Regions from separate parts of the Homo sapiens genome. Here regions 1 and 3 are each linked to region 2. The links are contacts of gene promoters, found by promoter capture Hi-C in blood cells and fetal thymus (Javierre and others, 2016). All regions are on one chromosome and are shown on one strand. Each heading gives the region's core, a stretch centred on a gene start or on the middle of the fragment in contact. The rest is flanking DNA. Distances are from core to core; before and after follow the strand shown. Region 1 overlaps CIRSR (corepressor of RBPJ and splicing regulator). Region 2 holds the start of CDCA7 (cell division cycle associated 7). Region 3 overlaps OLA1 (Obg like ATPase 1).

Region 1 (3,639 bases), core at 461-2,960, 1.0 Mb before region 2:
ATATTATATGATATATATAATATATAATATAATATATAAAATATATATAATATAATATATATTATATAATATATAAAATATATTATATGATATATATAATATAATTTATATAATATAATATATATTATATATATTTTATATATTATATTATATAATATATTATATATATCATATAATATATATTATATATAATATATAAAATATATATGTACATATATAAGTAATATATGTACATATATAATATATCTTATAAAAAGACAATTTCTTATATAAGAAAGTTGAATAGGTACTGGTAAAAATAATAGTTGTTACTCTTTATTAAGTACTATTTGTCGAGCACTTCACTAAGCACTCTATTTACAGTCATACATTGTGAAAGTGTGCTAAATTTATATACTACACAGAGTTTTCAGTTGGGATTTTTGAAAAATATAAATGCTAGAAGAGTAATGATTGTTTAATAGTCTGTATAATCTCTGTAACACTGGGGAAATACATCATTTTCTTGACATAGTTGGAAGTACTGTAAAGAAGGCATGCTTTCTATAACATCTTATTAAAATTACCCATCTTGTGATGAAAACTGATGAAATTAGTATAACCTCTCATCATGATGGCCAAGCTTTGTGACCCTTTATTGGAGTGGTTTTTATTCTAATTATTAACAAGTTTGGTGTCTGAATTCATTCGATATCTAATAAAATTGTTGACAAGGAAATGTAGTTTTGACACTTCAGAAGAGACATTTTCTACTTTATAAAATTAAGTTCCTACATGTGAAATTTGAGAAGCCACCAAAGTAAACATTCTATTATTCATTTAAAGCTCTTAATTGAGCCGGGCGCGGTGGCTCACGGCTGTAATCCCAGCACTTTAGGAGGCTGAGGCTGGCAGATCACGAGGTCAGGAGTTTGAGACCAGCCTGACCAACATGGTGAAACCCCGTTTCTACTACAAATACGAAAATTAGCCAGGCATGGTGGCAGTTGCCTGTAATCCCAGCTACTCCAGAGGCTGAGGCAGGAGAATTGCTTTAACCCAGGTGGCGGAGGTTGCAGTGAGCCGAGATCGTGCCACTGCACTCCAGCCTGGGCAACAGAGCAAGACTCCATCTCACACACACACACACAAAAAGCTCTTAATTGTATGAGCACCTCTATGCCATTTAGAGGCAACCAGTATTAATATTTAAAATTCAATTTTATTTAAGATTGTATTATCAATGTTAACAACCAGACTGAATAATTAAAGGGCCATTAAAGTAATACATAGGAATTAAACATTTTGTATAGAAGAAAAAAATTAAAAACCCTCTTGGTTTAAAATGAAATATTAATATAAGACAGGTGTTTTTGTTTGTTTTTAACTAAATAAGGCTTTTTTTCCTAAAACTATGACATCATTAATAACTTCCCCCATACTCCAATAATAGACAGTTTTTCCCCATCATCTCCCTAGTACCTAGGGCAAACTTACAGTTGTTCTTCGCAATATGAATGGAATGGTAAAGCCTGGAAAGTCCAGTAAAATATATTATCTTATAACTGAGTTTTTCTCACCAAATTTTTAACCACATCTGCTATTGACAGGTAAACAAATTTGAACTGATTGCCTTTTGCTTTCCATGATAATATGCAGGTGAGTGCGCAAATAAGTGGTAAAAGACCAACAAAGCAGTAAAAAGAAATAGACAAAGTATTCAACCAGCAAACTAAAGAACTCATTTCTGAATATTTTTCTATCCCCCTACCCTCCCGTATGAACTCCTTTTTGGCAGTAACTGTCTCATTCTTCCCTAAGTGACAGACACATCAGCTGGAGTACGTCATTTAAGCCAGTGTAGGTGATTTAGGCTGGCAACTTTAAATAGCTGCCATGAAATGTTGTCATTAGTTTGCTATCTGCAGGGAAAACAAAATGAAACAGGAATATACAAAATGAGATAAGAGTCTCTCTTACCTTACATAAACCTTATGTTTGAGGGCAGGGGGCAAACCTTTAAAAAAAAATTATTTATTTATTTAGAGACATGGTTTTGCCATGTTGGCCAAGTTGGCCTCCTGGGCTCAAGTGATCCTCCCGCCTCTGCCTCTCAAAATGCTGGGATTACACGCATGAGTCACCACTCCCAGCTGAAAATTTTTAAAATTTATTGTTAGTTCATATTTGGGAAACAAAAAGCTCACTTTTCAGTCTGAGATTTTGCAAAAGTGGAAGTGTAGTGTAAAAAAATATAAAACATACATACCAATAGCCAGCCTAAAACTGCTTGTTAGCAACCCAAGCTAGTAATTAAAAATTTTGAAATCTGGGAATAAAAGCAAGATTAATTAAAGTACTTGGTGGTTACCCATAGGTGTGTGTGTGTGTGTATGTGTGTGTGTGTGTGTGTGTGATTAGCAACCACTTGGCAATGTATTCAGTATTGTTATTTGACAAATAAGGATGAGGAATTTTGAATTGGAAATAAGGATGATAAATTCCTCATGTACCTTTAAAAATACATCTTTTAAATGAACTCTTACTGAGAGAATAACTACTAAAAGTTTAATTGTAGTTTTTTATTATAATATTTTGCTTTGATTTTATACTAAAAACTGCCAACCAGATAACATCTAAATGTATCTTTTTCAATATGACAAAGTTACATAAGAAGACTCCCCTTGCACGTAAAGAAAAATGCAATTATTTTCTATTCTGAATCTCCAGACTGCTGTTTTAGAAAATCATATCTGATTATTTGCTCAGCAGAAGATTATTGAGTTGATTTAGCTGTGATTTTACTTAACAAAGCTTCAACTGCATTCCTACTGTGGAGTCCGAAAAAGGTAGAGAGATATAAATGATACATTCAAACTGTGATTTTTGTGAACAGGGCCATCGATGCACCCCTCGGAGCTAATAGCGGAGATGAGAAACAGTGGGTTTGCACTGAAACGAAATGTACTGGGGAGAAACTTGACCGCAAATGATCCATCACAGGTAATGATCTTTTTATCAGTAAGCTGAAAATGTCTATAAATCTAAATGTGATTGCTTGTGAATTGCTACTTAATGTTTTCCAATATGCATATATCCATAGGAAAGTAAGATAGAGCAAAGAAAATGCCCAAAATGTGTTTTGATTTTGCTTTATTATTTTAATCTAAATGAGAAATTGTTTATAAACCTGTATTTTAATAAATGAAACTGCTCCTCTGAGTTTATGTGGATAAAATATCTAACTGAACTGGTGATGAGGTTGTTGGTTTTTCCTTCCTGCTAACTTACCCCTGATATGACATTAAATAGAACCAATGGTTAGAAGTATGTAAAAACTCCTAAAAATTGTAGAAAATATTTTAAACTTATTTATTTTATTAAACTATACATAGATCCAGAAAATGATTGAGTTTGAAGGGCTATATTATTATATATTTGATAATGTGCTGTTGAAATTATAATAAAAGCTAAAATTGTGGATATTTTGACATTCCTGTAAAACTCATAATCTTCTTTTTTATATTTCATTAAATTAAAAATAAAGTATTTAAACTGGCAAGAGTTAACATTCAAGAGATAGAGAATGGAAGTCATGCTCTAAACATTTTATCTGTGTGTGTCTATCATCCTTTTCCTGGAAAAGTTTCCTAATGCTGG
Region 2 (3,474 bases), core at 418-2,917:
TTGGGAGCTGAAAAGGATCTCAGATCCCATTTTCCAGATGAGGATATTCAAGGCCCCAGGAAGGTGTAATAGACTGCAAGATCACAGGGGCAGGAAGGAGAACTCAAGTCTGCCATCTTCTTAAGCAGCAGTGTTCATCGCATTACTGCAGGAATTACCACCCTTTACTCATCAATCTACCTGCAAGCAGTCAGAGGCCCCAGACAGCCTCAAAGGCGGCATTCTATTGGAAGCTGTCCGAGAAATACAGGCTGAGCTTTAACAAGTCAGCACAAGCCAAGAGTTATTTACCAGGCAAACGTATCTTTGGAGGAAAAGCCACAAAAAAGCAGCAAGGCAAATAGTCAAGACGGAGATGAACTTCTTTGGCAGGTAAGTAATAACTAATACCATTTATAGTAGGCGTTTTTCGTGCCAGGCACTATGTTAAGTACACTTTCACGTCAGGTTTAATTCTTTGCAACAAAGGTGCTATCGTTATTCTCACTTAGCCAATGAGGAAACTGAGGCTCAGGAAAGCGAAATGGATTACTCAAGTCCCATGGTGGCTCAGATTTGAACTCAGGCATGTCAGGTTCCAAGACCAGCTACACATGGTTTTCTTCATCCGGAAAGCCAATGCCCAGCTCCACCGGGGCGGCGACTCAGCTCTGAAACCACGCCCCATCGCACCCACCCCCGCGAGGGTCCCTAACCCCTGATATTTATTTTAAACATGTCATTGTCTTCCGTTTCACCCAACCCCCACTCTTCTACCCTCTCCAGGAGCCCGACCCTACGTTCTGGCTTCCGTTAGAGCAAAAAGTAACGTTCCACTCAGAGCAACGTCCTGCAGCTAAGAGTAAGGCTGGGGGGTGGGGGGTGGGGGGTTGGGGGTTGGGGTGGAGGAAGTAGGAAACGAGCAAATGGTCGGCGAACGCTTTGACCCACCAAGCCCTTTAAATGCACTTAACCACCGCCCGGGACTACGGTCGCTTCACACTGCGTGCGCAGCCCAAGTTCTAGGAGACCGGTTCGCAAGACCTTAAACCTCAGACGCGCTGGCCCTCAGCGGTTAGAAGCGGACGCGTCTCTTGCCGGGCGGGGTGCGCGCCCAAGGGCCACCCACTGAGCGCGGGTATAGACGCGGCGAGCCACGCACTGGCTCCGAGTTGTGTGCGGGAAAGGGCTGGGCCGCTGCGGGACAACCTCCCAGGGGGCAGGCAGGCTGGCTCTGCCTGGCAGGCAAAATCGGGACCGGCCAGCGCTCCCGGCCGCTGTCCGGCCTTTGGCGGACGCACGTGCCTAGGGCTTTCCAGCGCTGCTAGCCATCCTGCAAACGACTCAAGTCTCCACGCCGCCCGCACTTCGGGTGCGCACGCCACGCAGGAACGTCCCCATGGCCCTCAGTTATCCCAGGTGCACAAAATCAGGGGCTTGCCCAAGCGGGCAACGCCTAGGCAGGCCACCAGTTAAGGCAGCGCTAGGCTGCGGAGTTGGAGAGGGTCGGCCCGCGCCCGCCTGCGTCCAGCACCCACCGCGCCCGCCCCTCGGGTTCGCCCGCCCAGCCCTCACCGGCACGCGGCGAGCGTCCATGCTGGTGGCGGGTGCCCAGATCGGCGCTTGGAGCGGGGAGAGCGGAGCAGCCGCGCGGTCAGCGGTCCCACAGCAGGAGGAGCAGCAGCAGCGCGGCTGGCAGGCTGGGCGCGCCGACCCGGGCCCGGAGGGGCGGGGCTCGGGCTGTCTTTCCCGCGTTGGGACACAGGTCCTGCAAGCTGTGGTAACGGCCAGACATGGCGCAAGACTAGGTGGCCCCCTGGAAAAAACACGACCCCCCTATATATTCTGACCTCAAAGGATAGCCTTGGGCACTCCTAAAATCCCCTTTGAGAAAGGGGGGCTTTAGGGGCTACGGGGACCACTCTCCTTGTGCAGCTGCGCGGTCCTGAGCGAGTGGCGCGAAAATGGTTCGTATTGCCCCGGGGTTAGCTGTCTGATTTGCAAGAATTTTCGTGGTGGCGGAGGAAAAGTGGAGTCTGGGGGGTAAAGGAGAGCAGCGTGAGGGTGGCGCGGGTCACGCACCATGGCGTTTAGCACTTTCATTGCTGCGTGCGGTTTACAAGATTTAAAAAATCATAGAATCCAGCACGAACTCCACCCTTCATAATCGAGTTCACCGCCCCTGGATGTAGCACCTCTTATCTGGGAACCACACCATTATCTGAAGCAATAAAATGAGTTAAATCCTGATCTTTCTTTCCAAAAAGCACAGGAAGCCGACTTGTTTACTTGTGGTTTTCAAAGTAGAAGAAAAGCCGCAGCAGCTTGATGAAGACGTCTATAGTATAGTTAACCTTTAACGATTATCTGTTGGGGATTGAAACTAAAGATTGAACAATTGTGGCTTGATGATCTTCTCTGTCTTCAGAATTGAGAACTACCCTGAGTCAGTGCGAACGAGAAAACTTTTCATTGCCCTTTTAACCAAACTTGGCATTACAACGAAAAAATGAAATAAAGCGAGGCTTTTTGTGTGCGTGAAGAGCAAAACTTGCTTCTACAAGAAAAAGTAAATTTAGTTTCTTTAGAAGACACTAATTATACTCTTAACATTTAAAACAAGCGCTTGAAATGAAAACATTCGCATTTCCCCCTCATTTCAAAACTTTTCTCTGGGGAATAATTAATTCCTTTGCAGTAAGAGAGTGCATGGACATACTGTGTTCCTCTCTTGGTGTACTGAATACAAAAACTGTGAGCAAGTAAATAATGCCCGAGGACAATGGATTGGAAGGAGTCTTCCAGCCTTTCTTAAATATACCTACCCAGTAATCACTCTGCCACTGTGCAAGGGACAAAGAGCTCAAGGTCTAGAAGGTGAGTGCCAGGAGGAGAGGCTATCGGTGGGTGGTGAAATTACGGAATTACAGGGCCCTCAGTAAGTATTTGTTGAATGAATAAACATTTGGGAATATAATTTTGTGCCACTAAAGCTAAATATATGAAAATTTGGAATTACTAGATCCATGAAGCAGGGGAAGATTAAGTCACTTTGCCTGTGAAAGGTTCTGATAGGGAAATTTTTAGTCTTCCTGGGAGCACAAGAAAATAATTTGGTGTATGTGTTTTTTAAGGATAAGATCTCTGGTCTATTCGTCTTTTTAGTAATCAGGAAAATGCAAATTAAAACAAGTGTCACTGGAAAGGGGTCCCGATCTAGACCCCAAGAGAGGGTTCTTGGATCTTGCACAAGAAAGAATTCAGGGCAAGTCCGTAAAGTGAAAAAGCAAGTTTATTAAGAAAGTAAAGGAATAAAAGAATGGCTACACCGTAGATAGAGCAGCCCGAGGGCTGCTGGTTGCCCATTTTTATGGTTATTTCTTGATTGTATGCTAAACAAGGGGTGGATTATTCATGGCTCCCCTTTTTAGGCCATATAGGGTAGCTTCCTGATGTTGCCATGGCATTTGTAAACTGTCATGGCGCTGGTGGGAG
Region 3 (3,339 bases), core at 483-2,982, 730 kb before region 2:
TTATGAAGATCATCTGTCAACACTTTGAGATATTCTCCTTTGTTATTAAGCTTGTGATGCTCTACACTGTCAGGTTTTTTGCCAATTATAGTTAAGGTACAATAGTGTATTCACCAGATCAAAGTCTCACATTGGCGGTAGAGGAATGATTTGTAAGTCTTTATTCATTTGAATTGTACAATAGAACACCTGAGGAATGCAAATAATCCCTCTGAGAACTCTGCAGGAAAGGCTGTTAAAATGACAGGGTAGGACTATTGTTATTCTGAATTGATGTGTTAGCTAAAGTAATTATTTCTTATCTTGTTGTTTCATAACAGTTCTAGTTTTATTAGTTCTGTTGACCATATTTATGAAATAAAGTGTGTATGATATTTTTATATTCTCCTTTTACATGGGCTTGTTTTATTTCACTTTCATTGAATCTATTTGGTATGTGATCTGCTTTTTTAAAATTACATATTTGATTTTAACTTGTATAATGAAAGTAAGTTACTAAACCATTGATGATAACATTTGAATATAGACTTTTGTTTGAATAGTGTAAGTCTGTGAAGTAACTTAGAATACCATAATGTTAACGGAGACAGAAGCACCAATTTCAGTCCCCCCACCTTTTTTTTAACCTGTCCTTCTTAATTTTGGTTAAGAAAACATCTAGTTTGAATTTTATGTTAAAGGCAACATAAATCATAGGACTTGGTCCATTTTTTGGGATATGAACAAAAGAAAAAATACTATTATGAAGATTGAAAACCACAAATAACATACTAAATAAGTAGTTACCTTTGTATAACAAACATATACAAACTCTTGTGTGATTGTTTTTCATTCCTTTCTCCCATCCTAAATCCTGCTCAATGGGCCATAGTCTTAATTTTCTAATAACTCTGCTCCCCTGCCATTGATGGATTTGTGACTTAGTTCTTGTTTTTCTTTTCCCCTAAAGTGGCATTTACATTAATTATTTAAAGGACTTCTGCCACAGCATTTTGCCATAATAACTATTAAAACCTTTGTCTAAATATAGCAGTCTAGTGGAATTATGTAAGCCTATAGCATAATTTTATAAAAATTTTAATGGAATGTATAGTCTCACACTAAACTCAGTTCCAGATTCATAGGAATGTATGCTATGATTATCTGAGAAGGAAAATTAATAATAGTAACTGCTGTTAATTCTTTACTATTTGCAGGCTTTTCTAGGTTCCTTACAATATAATATGTACTATTATTATCTCTATTTTTACAAGTGAGGAAACTGAGGCTTAGAAACGTTCAGTAACCTGCCCAGTAATAAAAAGCTAGGAAAGTGTTAGGCTCTGAACCTAATTAATATATTCACTACACTTATTTCATTTATGTTCTAATTACTACTTTGCCAAATACTCCATGCTTTGGAAGGAAAAAAAATGACTCAATAATGTCTTTTCAGGTAACAACTAGGATCAGTTTCCTAACTGATTTGGCTTTCCAAATCCTTTGTGATTAAAGGAATTTCTTTCCTCTGCAGTTCTATTATTCTTGTTCTCACAAAAGTCAGGTTCATACAGCTGCGTACGTGATCAACCATATTTGTAAATCTGTATTTCTGCACGTGCTTGTTCTGGCTAGGAAAAAGCTTCCTCAAAACTAGTGACCACTGTGAGTTCTGTTAGTCCATGAAGGAACTAAACCAGGCATATAGATATCTGGCTGGAACAAATTATTTATTTGTGAAGGGCTCTTCAGAATTAGCTGGTATTTTTAGGTATGATTCCTGTACAAACAGAACTTTATGTCTTCTTTTAAAAATTTACTTTGTAAAGTAAGGAAAACAAAAAATTATAAAATGGAAGCTTTATTCAAGGGTACAGGTGTTAATGCTGAACAATTTTAGTGTAACTAAAAAAAGTTTTTAAATATTTGTATAATAGTTTCCATAGATAATGTGCTAAAGTAAAACTAGGTTACAGTAAAATACTATGGCGTATACCTGAAGCAGTTGCTGCCTGTTAATGCCTTGACCTTGGAAAGCTATATACAAAAAGATGGCATCATAAAACCGTGCAATTCTTATGAATATGTATGTGCTACTTGATAATAATGAATGTGGTACAGTCATGCATGCACTACAAGATAATGTTGTGCCCTTTTTTGTCTACAGGTTGATAAAAATTAAAGAGTGGGTGGACAAGTATGACCCAGGTGCTTTGGTCATTCCTTTTAGTGGGGCCTTGGAACTCAAGTTGCAAGAATTGAGTGCTGAGGAGAGACAGAAGTATCTGGAAGCGAACATGACACAAAGGTTAATTAGCATTCATTTTCCCTACACTTTATTATCAACTATTTCCTTGCAGTAATTTAATTGCTTGCGCTGATAGAATAATAAATGACAGAGTAATTACCATTATAAAGAGGGAATCTTCTCCTTTCTTTACCATGAGACAGAGTGAAAAGATTTATTTTAAATTAAGTTTTTAACTGTCATCTGTCATCTCCGTACAGTGTTTTAATTATAACATAGGTATTAGTTATGTATATTTTTGAGAAGGAATGATCGCCAAAACTCTTTCGTCATGTTCAGTGGGGGAGGGGAAAGGGTGAATCAGTTGCCATAATTTTTTCTGAGTAACAGTAATATATTGTTTAAATATCAGATTTCAATCAAATAATTTTGCTTTTATGGCCAGGTCCTGGAAATAATTAATTTTGGATGAAAATAGTCATAATTTTTCTTTTTTTAAATAGCAAACAATTCAAAATAATATCTTCAGGCTAATACAATTAAAACCAATTTTAGAAGAGAGGTTTTTAAAAACAGTTACTTGCTTTCTGAACCCTTCCAGTGTATTCTGAAAGATGAATGGTCATTTACTACTATCTTTAACATTTTCTGCTTGAAATGAATAATTTTAGCTCTATACCAATTTCTGGCACAATCAACTTATGTGTTGGGTGAATTTGTTTCATTTGATTTCAGTGCTTTGCCAAAGATCATTAAGGCTGGGTTTGCAGCACTCCAACTAGAATACTTTTTCACTGCAGGCCCAGATGAAGTGCGTGCATGGACCATCAGGGTAAGATTCATACTTATTCATCAGCTATATCCAGTTCCACACTATTGAATTCAGATTGATATCACTGACTTTGAAGTTTGTCATGGTGGCGGTTAGCTAGTCATTACAGATGAGGTTTTTGTCCAGGATAACTTTAATTATTTGTGAGCTGCTGAACAGTGAAAGTGGAGCGGCATTGATTGAGGCAGGTAACAATTGATTCTGCCTATTACATAGTCTGAATTTCTTCATCCTGTAGAATCTGTCTACCCTCCTCCTGTGGTCAGAGATAAGACGCACC

Evidence for each region. Contacts are between HindIII fragments. The CHiCAGO score rates a contact against its expected background, and 5 or more counts as called.
Region 1: a contact is called between a fragment that was not itself captured here and the fragment with the promoter of CDCA7 in region 2, in 9 of 17 cell types (total B cells, activated CD4 T cells, total CD4 T cells and 6 more). The highest score is 7.7, in total B cells.
Region 3: a contact is called between a fragment that was not itself captured here and the fragment with the promoter of CDCA7 in region 2, in 1 of 17 cell types (total CD4 T cells). The highest score is 5.7, in total CD4 T cells.

What each region holds. Positions count from the first base shown.
Region 1 is chr2:174,350,962-174,354,600 of GRCh38, reverse strand. It overlaps CIRSR (corepressor of RBPJ and splicing regulator), which reads left to right. Exons shown (of 10, transcript NM_004882.4): 8 at 2,876-2,982. Among named protein-coding and RNA genes, the nearest start is that of SP9, 18 kb to the right of the region's middle. The HindIII fragment of the contact is 2,171 bases long and covers 625-2,795 here.
Region 2 is chr2:173,353,065-173,356,538 of GRCh38, reverse strand. It overlaps CDCA7 (cell division cycle associated 7), which reads right to left and starts at 1,667. Exons shown (of 10, transcript NM_031942.5): 1 at 1,555-1,667. The coding sequence starts at 1,575. RefSeq lists a silencer at 1,456-1,725 and enhancers at 2,276-2,365, 1,668-2,623. The HindIII fragment of the contact is 4,998 bases long and covers 1-3,474 here.
Region 3 is chr2:174,080,872-174,084,210 of GRCh38, reverse strand. It overlaps OLA1 (Obg like ATPase 1), which reads left to right. Exons shown (of 11, transcript NM_013341.5): 8 at 2,147-2,287; 9 at 2,963-3,059. Among named protein-coding and RNA genes, the nearest start is that of LINC01960, 57 kb to the right of the region's middle. RefSeq lists an enhancer at 1-436. The HindIII fragment of the contact is 217 bases long and covers 1,624-1,840 here.